2 separate regions of the Homo sapiens genome follow, and region 1 is linked to region 2. The links are contacts of gene promoters, found by promoter capture Hi-C in blood cells and fetal thymus (Javierre and others, 2016). All regions are on one chromosome and are shown on one strand. Each heading gives the region's core, a stretch centred on a gene start or on the middle of the fragment in contact. The rest is flanking DNA. Distances are from core to core; before and after follow the strand shown. Region 1 overlaps ELOVL7 (ELOVL fatty acid elongase 7). Region 2 holds the start of ELOVL7 (ELOVL fatty acid elongase 7).

Evidence for each region. The method cuts DNA at HindIII sites, captures the fragments that hold promoters and counts their contacts. A CHiCAGO score of 5 or more calls a contact.
Region 1: a contact is called between a fragment that was not itself captured here and the fragment with the promoter of ELOVL7 in region 2, in 1 of 17 cell types (megakaryocytes). The highest score is 5.0, in megakaryocytes.

What each region holds. Positions count from the first base shown.
Region 1 is chr5:60,785,095-60,791,353 of GRCh38, reverse strand. ELOVL7 (ELOVL fatty acid elongase 7) reads left to right here. Exons shown (of 9, transcript NM_024930.3): 3 at 3,923-4,020. The coding sequence starts at 3,957. Among named protein-coding and RNA genes, the nearest start is that of ELOVL7, 56 kb to the left of the region's middle. The HindIII fragment of the contact is 1,689 bases long and covers 3,868-5,556 here.
Region 2 is chr5:60,842,641-60,848,278 of GRCh38, reverse strand. ELOVL7 (ELOVL fatty acid elongase 7) reads left to right here and starts at 4,010. Exons shown (of 9, transcript NM_024930.3): 1 at 4,010-4,119. RefSeq lists silencers at 3,789-4,088, 4,109-4,268, 4,279-4,338. The HindIII fragment of the contact is 2,652 bases long and covers 2,784-5,435 here.

The DNA of each region.
Region 1 (6,259 bases), core at 3,463-5,962, 58 kb after region 2:
CAGTGTCTAATCTTTATGTCTGTATGTACCCATAAATTGGCACAATTTCTCTCTCTAAATGATAAATGGCTGATTTTGGCTGGGTGCGGTTTCTCACGCCTGTAATCCCAGCACTTTGGGAGGCTGAGGCAGGCGGACTGCTTGAGCCCAAGGAGTTTGAGACCAGCCTGAGCAACATAGTGAAATCCATCTCTACAAAAAATAAAACAATTAGCTAGGCATGGTGGCATGCTTTGGTAGTCCCAGCTACTTGGGAGGCTGAGACAGGAGGATCACTTGAGCCTGGGCAGTTGAGGCTGCAGTGAGTCAAGCTCTCTAAGTGCACTCCAGCCTGGGTGACAGAGCCAGACCCTGTCTCAGAAAACAAAACCAAACCAAAAAAGCAGACAAAAACAACCACCCTAAAACTAAAACAAAAGGATAAGTTTGATTGAATGCTCATTTTAAAAAATCAGATTCTGTGCTACAAACCTTACAAATATATATTATTTAATATGGTTCTCAAAACAACTCTATGAGTTAGTTTCTTTTATCTTGGTGGGTAATTAATGGAATTCCCATTTTACAGATTAGGAAATTGAGCTGTAATTTTGCTGGAGTCACACAGCTATTAAATGGTGGGATTGAAAAACTAAGGTTGTTGTGAGCCGAGAGCCCCTGCTCACAACCCCACATTACACCTTTGCTATAGAGATGAGAGATGATTTTTTAGGAAAATAAAGAGTCCAGACAGACTCTGGCAAGACCCTGGCATCACCACAGCCAGTCTTGAGTCTGAACTCAGCTGAGAAGACTGGGTGTATCAATACAGAGGCCATGCTGACATGCCTTCCTGGACTTGGAGAAATCCTCTGGAGGGGATGAACTCTTAAAGAATTTAGACAAAATTTCTATTTTGGGTGTATCTGCATATGTGTATTTGTATATGGGTTTTTAAGTAGGAATGTTCCAGTAAAGGTACAGCTGATTTTATTCTTTATTTTTAGATAGGTAAAATATCTATATGAGCCACAAAACAACAGTATAAAATCTTTCTTCCATTCCTTCAGCCCAGTTTGTACCCCATTCCCTTTTTCGTGTCTACCTCTTAAGAGTTCCTTTTATACAACTATGAGTAAATGTAAAATTATATTCATAAGACTTTTCTCCTTTTATATACAAGGTCATCATTTTTAAATTTTGTACTTTCTTTGTTTTTTTCTTTTCTTTTCTTTTTGAGGTAGTGTCTCGCTCTTGTTGCCCAGGCTGGAGTGCAATGGCGCAATCTTGGCTCACTGCAACCTCTGCCTCCCAGGTTCAAGCGATTCCCCTGCCTCAGCCTCCTGAGTAGCTGGAATTACAGGCGCCTGCCACCATGCCCGGCTAATTTTTGTATTTTTATAGAAACAGGGTTTCACCGTGTTGGCCAGGCTAGTCTCGAACTCCTGACCTCAGATGATCTGCCCACCTCAGCCTCCCAAACTGCTGGGATTACAGACGTGAGCCACTGCGCCCAGCTCTTTGCTTTTTTCAAATAGTGATTTATCTTGGAAATATTTCCATATCAGTACATGGAGAGGTTCTTCATTCTTATTTACAATGTCATAATATTTCATGGTGTTAAATCTGTTATCACTTATTAACCAGCTCTCCATTAGTAGACATGTGGGTTGTTTCCAGTCTTTTGCTCTTACTGATGCAATGAATAAACTTGCATATATGCCCTTCTGAATATGTGTATGTATTTCTACAGGATAAGTTTCTAGAAGTAGAAATGCTGTGTTAAAAGTATGCATTTATAATTTTGACTGATAATGGCAAATTGTCCTCAATAAGAGTTACACTAATTTGTACTTCCACTAGTAATGCATGAAGAGAGAGAATTTCCCACACTCCTGCCAACACAGTTAATGGTTGTCTGGATTTTGGCCCATTTGATAAAAAAAATGTTTGAATTTTGGCCTATTCAATAGACAAAAAATATTGCAGATTATTTAAATATGATTAGTTAAGCAACTTTTCATATGTTTGAGTGCCACTTGTATTTCCTTTTCTGTGAACTTTGCCCATTTCCTATTGACTTAAGGTCTTTTATCAATTTTAGAAACTTGTCATATATTAGGGAGAGTAGCCGTTGTCTATGATATGAATTGAACATATTTTTTACTGTTTGACATTTATGATTAAATTTGTTAGCCTTCTCTTATGTCTTCTGAATTTTAGGTCTTAGTTAGTAAGGCCTTTCCCACTACAAGGTTATAAAAGTCTTCTACTATGTCATCTAGTGATTTCATGGTTCTGTTGTTCTTACTTAAATATTTGCTTTATTTGGAGTTTATCTTGGTTTATATTATAACACTTGGATTGAACCTTTTTTTCTCGGATGGCTGTCCAGGTGTGCCACACCATTTAGTGATTAATGTCTGGTAATTCAGTGCCCAATCATTGGAGATGCCACCTTTATCATATAGCATATGCCATATATAATTTTACCTATACTTACGTAAGTAAAATGGCTTTACTTTAGAATCCAGAGGAAAGTCTGAATTTTCTTGTGGGAACCCTAGAAGATTTTTTTTTTTAAGACCAAGTCTCACTCTGTTGCCCAGGCTGGACCAGGCTGGACCAGGCTGGAGTGCAGTGGCACAATCTGCTCACTGCAGCCTCTGCCTCCTGGGTTCGAGCAATTTTCCTGCCTCAGCCTCCCGAGTAGCTGGGATTACAGGCACCCGTCACCACGCCTAGCTGGTTTTTGTATTTTTAGTAGAGATGGGGTTTCACCATGTTGGTCAGGCTGGTCTCCAACTCCTGACCTCAGGTGATCTGCCTGTCTTGGTCTCCCAAAGTGCTGGGATTACAGGTGTGAGCCACTGCACCCGGCCAATTTTTAAAAATCATGGTAAAATATACCTATTATTTTCACCATTTTATATATATTTTCATTTAAATGGTTACCACTTTAACCATTTTAAAGTGTGAATTTCCGTGGCATTAAGTACATTTACATTGTTGTGCAGCCATCACCACCATCATCTCTAGAACTTTTACATGTTCCCACCACATGGCTTTGAATCAAATATACCAGTAATTTTATGGCATACCATTCATTTGGAAGGTGAGTCCTGATTTTACAGATGTTAAAATACGGTAAAATATACATCTTAGGTATATTTTAGTTACTAAAATATTTAGTTACTGAAATATAGTTCTCAATTTTCAAGTGTATTTAGTTTATTTCTGAACATTCTAATCTATTACGTTCGTTTCTCCATGTGCCAGTGCCACAGTGTCTTAATTATTGCAGATTTATAATATCTTTTAATACATAATAAGGCTAGTTTCTCCTCACTGGTCTTCTTTTTCAGATTTCTTTCTCCAGTTATTCTTGTCTATCTGTCTAGATAAACTAAGCAGCTTTTCCTTGGATATTATAGACCTTCCTTTCCCTCTTTCTGTCTCTATTCTACTTAAATTATAAAAATTTGCATATAGATGACTTTATGAGGCCTGAAGATGAGCTCTAAGTCTAGGATCAGTTTATCTTCTCTGAAAGTTTGTGTATCTCTTGACTTTCTTCTCCAGGGTTTCTGCTTTAGCTTTGCCACTTCAAGTGCAGTCCGTTCCTGAATTATGTTGTCAGCATAAAAGGGAGCTGCTCCTATGAAAGTTCTTAGAGTCATTTACTGCTTTTGAGTCTTGTACATAGAATATTAGTCTTTTTCAGTGATGTTAGCAGTGTCTCTAGAAGGATGGAAAACCCGAAATGTCTGCAACTGCATCAGGGTTTAAAGTAATTTACTTATGCATTTGCCTTCAGTGGGAGTTTGTTGTCTTGCCAGTTATTCATATTAAATTTTTAGCATTTTAAATAATGTATTACTATAAGCTTGACTTTATTTGCATTTATAGATTATAAACTCATTTCTGTTTTATTTTACTGAAGAACCCATTAAAAGAGCCAGTAAATCCTGTGGAAAATGGCCTTCAGTGATCTTACATCGAGGACTGTGCATCTTTATGATAATTGGATCAAAGATGCTGGTGAGTAACCACATTTCCTAATTGAGGTTCATCCTTCCTTTTTATGTCAGATTCTCATATTTAATAGGATTTCACTGGAACAGAATGAGAGACTTTGCAACTTAACAGTCCCTTATTACTAGTTAACGAAGAGGAAGTGCACAGGTTTCATTACAGATATGTACAAAGATGGAGCTACACAGATGTTCATTACAATGTTTACAGTAAGGAAAATAGCCTAGATATCCAGTGAAGGGAACTGATCAATAAATGATGACTCATTCTAACTTAGTAGCCATTAAAAGTGATTTTGGAAGGACAGTGCTCTTCAGCCTGATTCTTCCCTAATGCTCCTGAGGGAAATTACAGTTAATGCCAACTCTTTTTTTTTTTTTTAAGACAGAGTCTCACTCTGTCGCCCAAGCTGGAGTGCAGTGGTGCAATCTCGGCTCACTGCAACCTCCGCCTCCCTGCAACCTCCGCCTCCCTGGTTCACGCCATTCTTCTGCCTGAGCCTCCCAAGTAGCTGGGACTACAGGCACCCACCACCATGCCTGGCTAATTTTTTGTATTTTTAGTAGAGACGGGGTTTCACTGTGTTAGGATGGTCTTGATCTCCTGACCTCGTGATCCGCCCGCCTTGGCCTCCCAAAGTGCTGGGATTACAGGTGTGAGCCACTGTGCCCGGCCACTGCCAACTCTTTTGAATGAAAGAGTTGCAGCCCCCAGGAACCTGTCAGAGTGAACAGGGAACAGGAAAACCAGGGAATGACTGCCTGGGACACCTCCGAGTGATTCTGATATGCCTGCCTTTTACCCTTGCCCATTTATTTTAAAAGTCAATGTTTCAGAAGACATTAATGCCATAGCAAGAAGTTTAAAATATGTTAAATGAAAGCAGGTTATAAAATACTCCATACATTTCTTTCATGGGGTTTAGCAGTTATCTCTGGGTAGGATTATGGGTAATTTTTATTTCCGTAGTTATATTTGTCTACATATTTTTAAATCACAACAAATATGTTGTGTTGCTTTTATAACCATTTTTTAAAGTTTTAAAAGCAGAACAAAAGTAAAATTTCAAAAAAAAGAATCAGAGCATCTTAGAACTGAGATGGATCTTAGATATCATCGAAGCTAATGCCTCATTTTACAGTTGAAGAAATGTGACCTCAAAGTCAAGATGGCAGAAAAGACTAGAACCTATGTGTTCTGGTTATTAGTTGTAGTACTCTGGTATTTAACATTTGAGTTTATTTTTGAGATATTGAGCTATACATACTCACCACCATCACTACTTTAGGTTGATTCTTACCTATCAACTAGAAATTGCAAGTCTACCAAATTCAGGAAGGAAATGCACACCTCTTGGCACCTACCACAGATGAAATTATAGTCAAATTTACAACGATTTCAGCAAAGATACACTGTTTCATCATTTGCAGCTTTCTCAGCAGACTACTAAAGACCAAATTTATCTCACTAAAAGTGTTCCCAACAGTTTTTCCTTTGAGGAATGCCAAGGTTCTTTGTAAGTATCTCATAGAGAGAGAAGCTTCACTGTGGTAGGGGATACATAGTGACTATGCCTATCTTTTCTTAACTTTTTTTTCTTAGTTTTCCAATATATGATACACAGAATATTCAAGTTTCTTTAGGGGTCATCCTTCTCTGAAGGTTTACAGTAGTTCTCATAAAGTCAGTATTAATTTAAATACTAATATTTTCATTGCTTTTCAAGGAGAGGTGTGCCTTGCTACATGAACTCTCAGTATTTGAACTTAGGAACCAAGTAGATTGGGTTTTTGAAATAGAGTTATTTGGAAGAACAGATCTCTTGGTATCCAATTCTTGATAGTCACTATCCCAGATACAAGAATCCAAGAGACTCAAATAATCAATATGCTAACTCAAGAGCTGAATAGATGTAGATAATAATAAATATCTATGTAGTCCTAGAAGTTAAAAATGCCTTAATATGAACTTCTTTAGAATTCCACTTCCACTTTTATCCATGGATCAACTCCTTAATTTTTATTAGGAATACCTACATTGAAATTGCTGAGTAAAATTAGATTAGATGTGGAGTGGAGTCCTGACAACAGCATTGCAAACGGTGCAGGGAAGATGAGGGGAGAGAGGCAGGGAGAAGGCAAGGAATACTTGTATTTGAAGTTATGCTCATTTGAAGACTTGGGAGGGGAGAGAGGATATGGGGATTTGGAGTGAAAAGACCTAGATTTAAGGTCTGACACTGCTG
Region 2 (5,638 bases), core at 2,761-5,260:
CATATTTATTTAGCACCCACTGTTTGTAGGCTAATATCCTAGGCACCACAGATATAAAGAGAGAGTAGATAAAATATCTTCCCTTTAGGGCTTATAGCACAGCTGGGGAGGCAATGATAAGTATCAGAAAAGATAGGTCACATGTAAGGTGTCTCAGCAACTCTTAACAGAATCAGTTAAGAGCGTGTGTTAAGATGCACATTCCTTGGCCCACTCTCCAGACTCACTAAATCAGCATCTCAAAATAATTTTCAGGAACTTGCATAACATCCCAAGCATTGTGACTCTCAGTAAAGTATAAGAATCACTGGTAAAAGTTAAATCCATATGATACTGACATAGAGTAAGAAGTTGACAGGGTTCAATTTTCTCTTAAAGAATAAAATATAGTGAAAAAAATTGTAATTATTCACAAGGGTTATCGTTGCCTCAAGAGAATACCAGAGGCACTCTACAAATTACTAATAATTTAGTAAAGACAAAGGATTTACAACCATTAAACAAAAATTAGCGTTCTTATATTTACATTTAGAAAATGTAATTTAAAAATACATATACCAGGCCAGGCACGGTGGTTTACACCTGTAATCCCAGCACTTTGGGAGGCTGAAGAAGGAGGTTCTTGAGACCAGGAGTTTGAGACCAGTCTGGGAAACATAGCAAGATCCCGTCTCTACAAAAAATTAAAAAATTAGCCCCCCATGGTGGTGCATGCCTGTAGTCCTAGCTTCTCTGATGCTGAGGCTGGAAGATCGCTTGAGCCCAGAAGTTCAAGGCTGCAGTGAGCTATGATTGTGTCACTGCACTGTAGCCTGGGCAACAGAGTGAGACCCTGTCTTAAAAAAAAAAAACGTTGATAGTAGTGGCAATAATTATAAGGTTCCTAAGAATAAGCATAATAAAATATGTGAAAGACCAACTATGGAGATATATGTTCATGGATGGGTCACCTCAATATCATAAAGATGACAGGTTATCCCTAAATAACTTTAAGACAATTAAAATAAAAATCCTGCCATAGCTTTTCATTGAAAACAAGAAAGAAAGCTTCTTTTCACATTTACATAAAATAGTAAAAGTAAAAGAAAATATAAGGCAGGACACATAGACAGTGGAATGGAATCAAGAGCCTAAACACAGAACCCCGTGTGTGAGAATTTAGCAAATGGGGAAAGGAGGGATAATCTCTTCTCTATTCTCACTCTTGGTGCTCTTAGCCATTCTCATGCCTTTCAGTGTCATCTGGAAACTGACTACATCCAGATTTATATTGCTAGCCCAGACCTCTCTTTCTTGACCTCCAGACTAGTGTAATCAACTACCTACTTGACATTCATTCCCATTTAGATAGGTAACAGGTATCTCAAATTAAAGCAATGCCAAACAACTCCTGACCTGCCCTTCTCCCTACATTTTTCTTTCACAGTTTTTTTTTCTTTCAGTAAATGGCATTTTTTTTCTTCGAGTTACCCAAGGCAAACACCCTGGAGTCATCCTTGACCTCTTTTTTCTCTCTCTCATAGCCCATATCAAATTCTCAGGAAATCCTGTTAATATTACCTTCAGAATGTATTTTTTTAAATCTTCTTTCACTACTACCAACTTGGTCAAAGCCACCTTTATCTCTCATCTGGATTTCCCAAGAGCCTCCTGATCATCGTCTTACTTCTGTCCTTCTTCTCTGCCTCCATACCCCATGCCCTATTCTCAAAAAAGTTGCCAAAATACTCTTGAAAATGTCAAAGTATGACAGTTTTTTACTCAAAATGCTTCCTTAACTCTTTGACCTCATTTCTTACTGTCCTCACTCACTGAAATTCATCTGACATCTCCCCTTTGCTGGTCTATGAATGGAATATCCCACACCACACCCCCAGAGCTTTTAGCCTTGCCATTCCCTTTGAGTGGAATGCTGTTACTGGATAGGCACACAGGTGTGTCACCTTACCTGTTCAAAATCTGGGCTGAAATGCCTGCTTCCACTGGGGCCTTCCCTAACCACTTTAACATTTAACACAACTCCCCACCTCCAAAAGTCTCCATCCCCTTCCCTTCTTTATTTTTCTTCATAGCACTTATCAAACCCTGAACATCACATTTTTTTTCTTTTTTTTCCTCTTTTTTTTTTTTGAGACAGAGTCTAGCTCTGTCGCCCAGGCTGGAGGAGTGCAGTGGCGAGATCTCTGCTCACTGCAACCTCTGTCTCCCAGGTTCAAGCGACTCTCCTGCCTCAGCCTCCCAAGTCGTTGGGACTACAGGCACGCACCACCACACTCGGCTAATTTTTGTATTTTTAGTAGAGACGGCGTTTCACTGTATTGCACAGTCTGGTCTCGAACTCCTGACCTCACGATCTGCCCGCCTCGGCCTCCCAAAGTGCTGGGATTACAAGCGTGAGCCACTGCGCCTGGCTGAACACTACATTTTTTTTACTTCTTTATTCATGTATTGTCTGTCATCTCCAACTAGAATGAACGTATAGTCCCTGAGAACGGGGAATTTGTTATCTATTGAAACTTCAGGGCCTGGAACATAGCAGCACTCCAGTATTTGTTAAATAAATGAATCCATTTGAGCTTCTGCATATTTGAAATTTCATAAGTATATATAAATGGTAAATTGTGATAGACTCAAAGGCTAGTATCATTAGGCAATTGTCTCCCGTTCCCAAAAGACTTCCTAAGTCTACTAAATGATCTGTTTTTAATATGAAAGCAAAGTTATCTAAAAGAAAGGAGAAATCTTTAGTTTTTTTGACTTCGAGATTCTTTGCAATTTAAGCTTTTTTTTTTTTTTTTTTTTTTTTTTTTGCTTTTCTTTCAATGGACACTTTCGAAGTTTTACATAAAAACATTAAAACCTCTTGTTTAATGTAGTGGGATTAAGCTGCCGAAGGCAATCCCTACATGTGAGGAAAATATGCTTCCGACACCCCAATTTTTTTTTTCTCCCTACCCATCCTCTCTGGTGGTCCTGACGCTCCCAGCCCCTTTTTGTGTTTCTTGATTCCATGCTGAGAACTCGCAATACAAACTCAAAGCCCACATTTGTGAGGTGGTTGGGTCAGGACTGCAACTAAAAATGATTATTGTTTTTTAGGTTTCTGGACAGTTCAACACCAGCCTTTGGTTTTGCCTCAGAAGCAGGGAACTTCTCTAGGCCCCTATTTTGCCTTTCAGCTATTGATGATCCAAATCATACCAGCGATTAGGAGGATCATTACCAGACACAAGGCCAGGTACGTTTAAAAAATAAATAAACCAAGCGCAGGTGCACACTCCGAACGCTCATCCCCACCCCCACTTTCCAATCCAACAGTAGGTAACGAGAAATGAATTTTCTAGACTTTTTTTCCTGCAGCAGTTGCTGTTACCAGAAACAAAGTTAGATGATATACAATCTAATCTTCATTGCTCTAAAAGTCCTCTCCCCATGCCCCCCAGGCTGCCTCAATTCTCTAGTTTCTTATTCCTTATAAGCAGGGGATGGAGCTGAACCAAGTCGGCCTTCCCCTCCCAGGGCCTTCTCCTCTTGGTCTGGCTTCCATTTCAGATGCGAATTAACCCTCCCAATACCCTTTCAGAAGCAAGGAGTCCCCTTTTTCTCCGCCTCCAGCCTCAGCTAGGTTTTCCTCATTTCGGATTTTTCTACTGCTCATTCCCAAATGAGTCACGCATGACGACAATTTCCACTCTGCTATGTCAGCCTGGAGATGTCCCCCAAGTGATGGCATCTGCTCTCGGAAAGAAAGGTCATCGGTGCCACGACCAGCCCCGCTAACCCAGAGCGGCCGGTGGGCCCCAGTCCCGAGAGTCAGGGCGCGCGGCGGAGGCGAGGCCGGGGCGGCCTCCGCCCTCCCGGCCGCTCCCCCTCGCGCCGCCCCGGCTCCTCCCTCCGGCCCTCGGCGGGCACCTGGCGGCGGCGGGCAGGGGGCGGCGCTGCGCGCGTCACGCGGCTGGGTGGGATAGCGGGCAGGTGACACCCGGCGGCCTCCTCCCCTTTCCAACCCAGTCGGCGGCCGGGACAGCGGGGGCCGCTGTGAGGAGCTCCGCGCTCGCGCTGCCAGTCGCCGCCCTCTCTCCCGCGCGCGCCCGGCGCTTCGGCTCCGCTCCCTGTGCGGTGAGTGCGGGGTTCCAGGCCGGCGGGCAGGGGCCAAACTTTCCCGGCGCGCGGAGGAGAAGAGACTGGGGAGGGAGGCAGAGCCGAGGGGAACGGCGTCGGGAGTGGCCGGATGGAGGAACTTGGGCGCGGCGCGCGAGAAGTGGGACCCGGGTGCGGGGGCCCCGGGAGCGGGGCCAGGCCCTCCCTGGGCTCGGGAGGCGCTTGGGAAGTTCTGTCCCCGCTGCCTGCGCGTGGGGAGGACCGAGGCCCTTTTCGCCGGAGCGCGGGGCCGCGGCGCTCACCTGCGCCTTCTCGGGAGCCCCCACCCGGCAGCATCCCGAAGGGAAGGTCGGGCCCGGTGGGCGCGCTGCGGAGCGGAGCCTGGACTGGGGTCCCGCGCGGCGCTGGCCCTGCGGAGCGGAGCGGGAGGGGCAGAGGTGCTCGCCGGCGGGACTGGGAGGGAGAAGGACCTGCTCGACCTTGGACGCGGAGGTCATTTTCCCAGCTCCGGGGTCTGGCCTCGCTAGCCACCCCCCCAAATTCCGGAGCCCCTTTCTTTCTGTTTCCTTCCTTCCCCTTTGGGCGCTTTTTTTGCTCCCGCGGCCAGATGAACTTGGGGCGCTGTCCCTTCGGCTCCCCGAGCCGCATCCTGTCTTGGTGGCTGCTGCTGGCCGGGAGGAGGCTGATGAATACAGAGCCGTGGAACAGGTCGTGCCGGAGATGGAAACAGGAAAGCCTGTTGTTTTGTCGTCCCAGGTATCGTTGGTTCTTTGGGAAATGGGCTTTCCCAGGTTCGTTGGGAAATGGGCTTTCCCAGGTTCGTTGGGAAATGGGCTTTCCCCCTTCAAGTCAGAGCTGTTTCAAACTTCACCCGGTGCGGACAGAGCGCTCTTTGGAGCTCCCTGGGGAACTCGGGACGGGAAGGAGCGGGTCTTTACACCTGTCCTGCTCCCAGTGTAGTTAGTCCCGCGTCGACTGAAGAACAGTTTTAGCGACCCGAGTTCCTCGCCAGTGGTCTTTTCCCTCTTGCTACGATCTCCCCTCGGAAAGCATGTTCACTTAACCCTGTGCTCTCGGATTACCCTTTATTTCATTCCTCACTTTTATTGCTTACGTGCTCCGAAAGGGTCATCGATACCTGGTGGCTGCCTCTGCGTTCTTACCACGCACCCGCTTATTCATTCCCTTTCTTTGTAGTTTCTCTTCGTACTACTGATCAGAAATTGGTCTCCCCAAGGTCACCGAGAACTAAATAAAATCCACCCCTCACCCCGTGGCAGACATTTATCAGTGCTTAGGTGCCAGGCACTGATGTCAGTTCTTGTGTAAAAGCTTTTAATCTTCACAACGATCCTGGGAAGTAGATATTAATATTATTCTCATTTTAATGATGAGGTAACTGAGGCACGGAGAGGTTAAGTAACTTGCCCAAGGCCACACCCATCTCAGCGGTAGGAGATTCCAGCTCTGGGGTTCTGTCTCCAGCACTGGAGCTGTTAACCACTGTCCTACACTGCCTCACCTAGAGTTCGTTTGC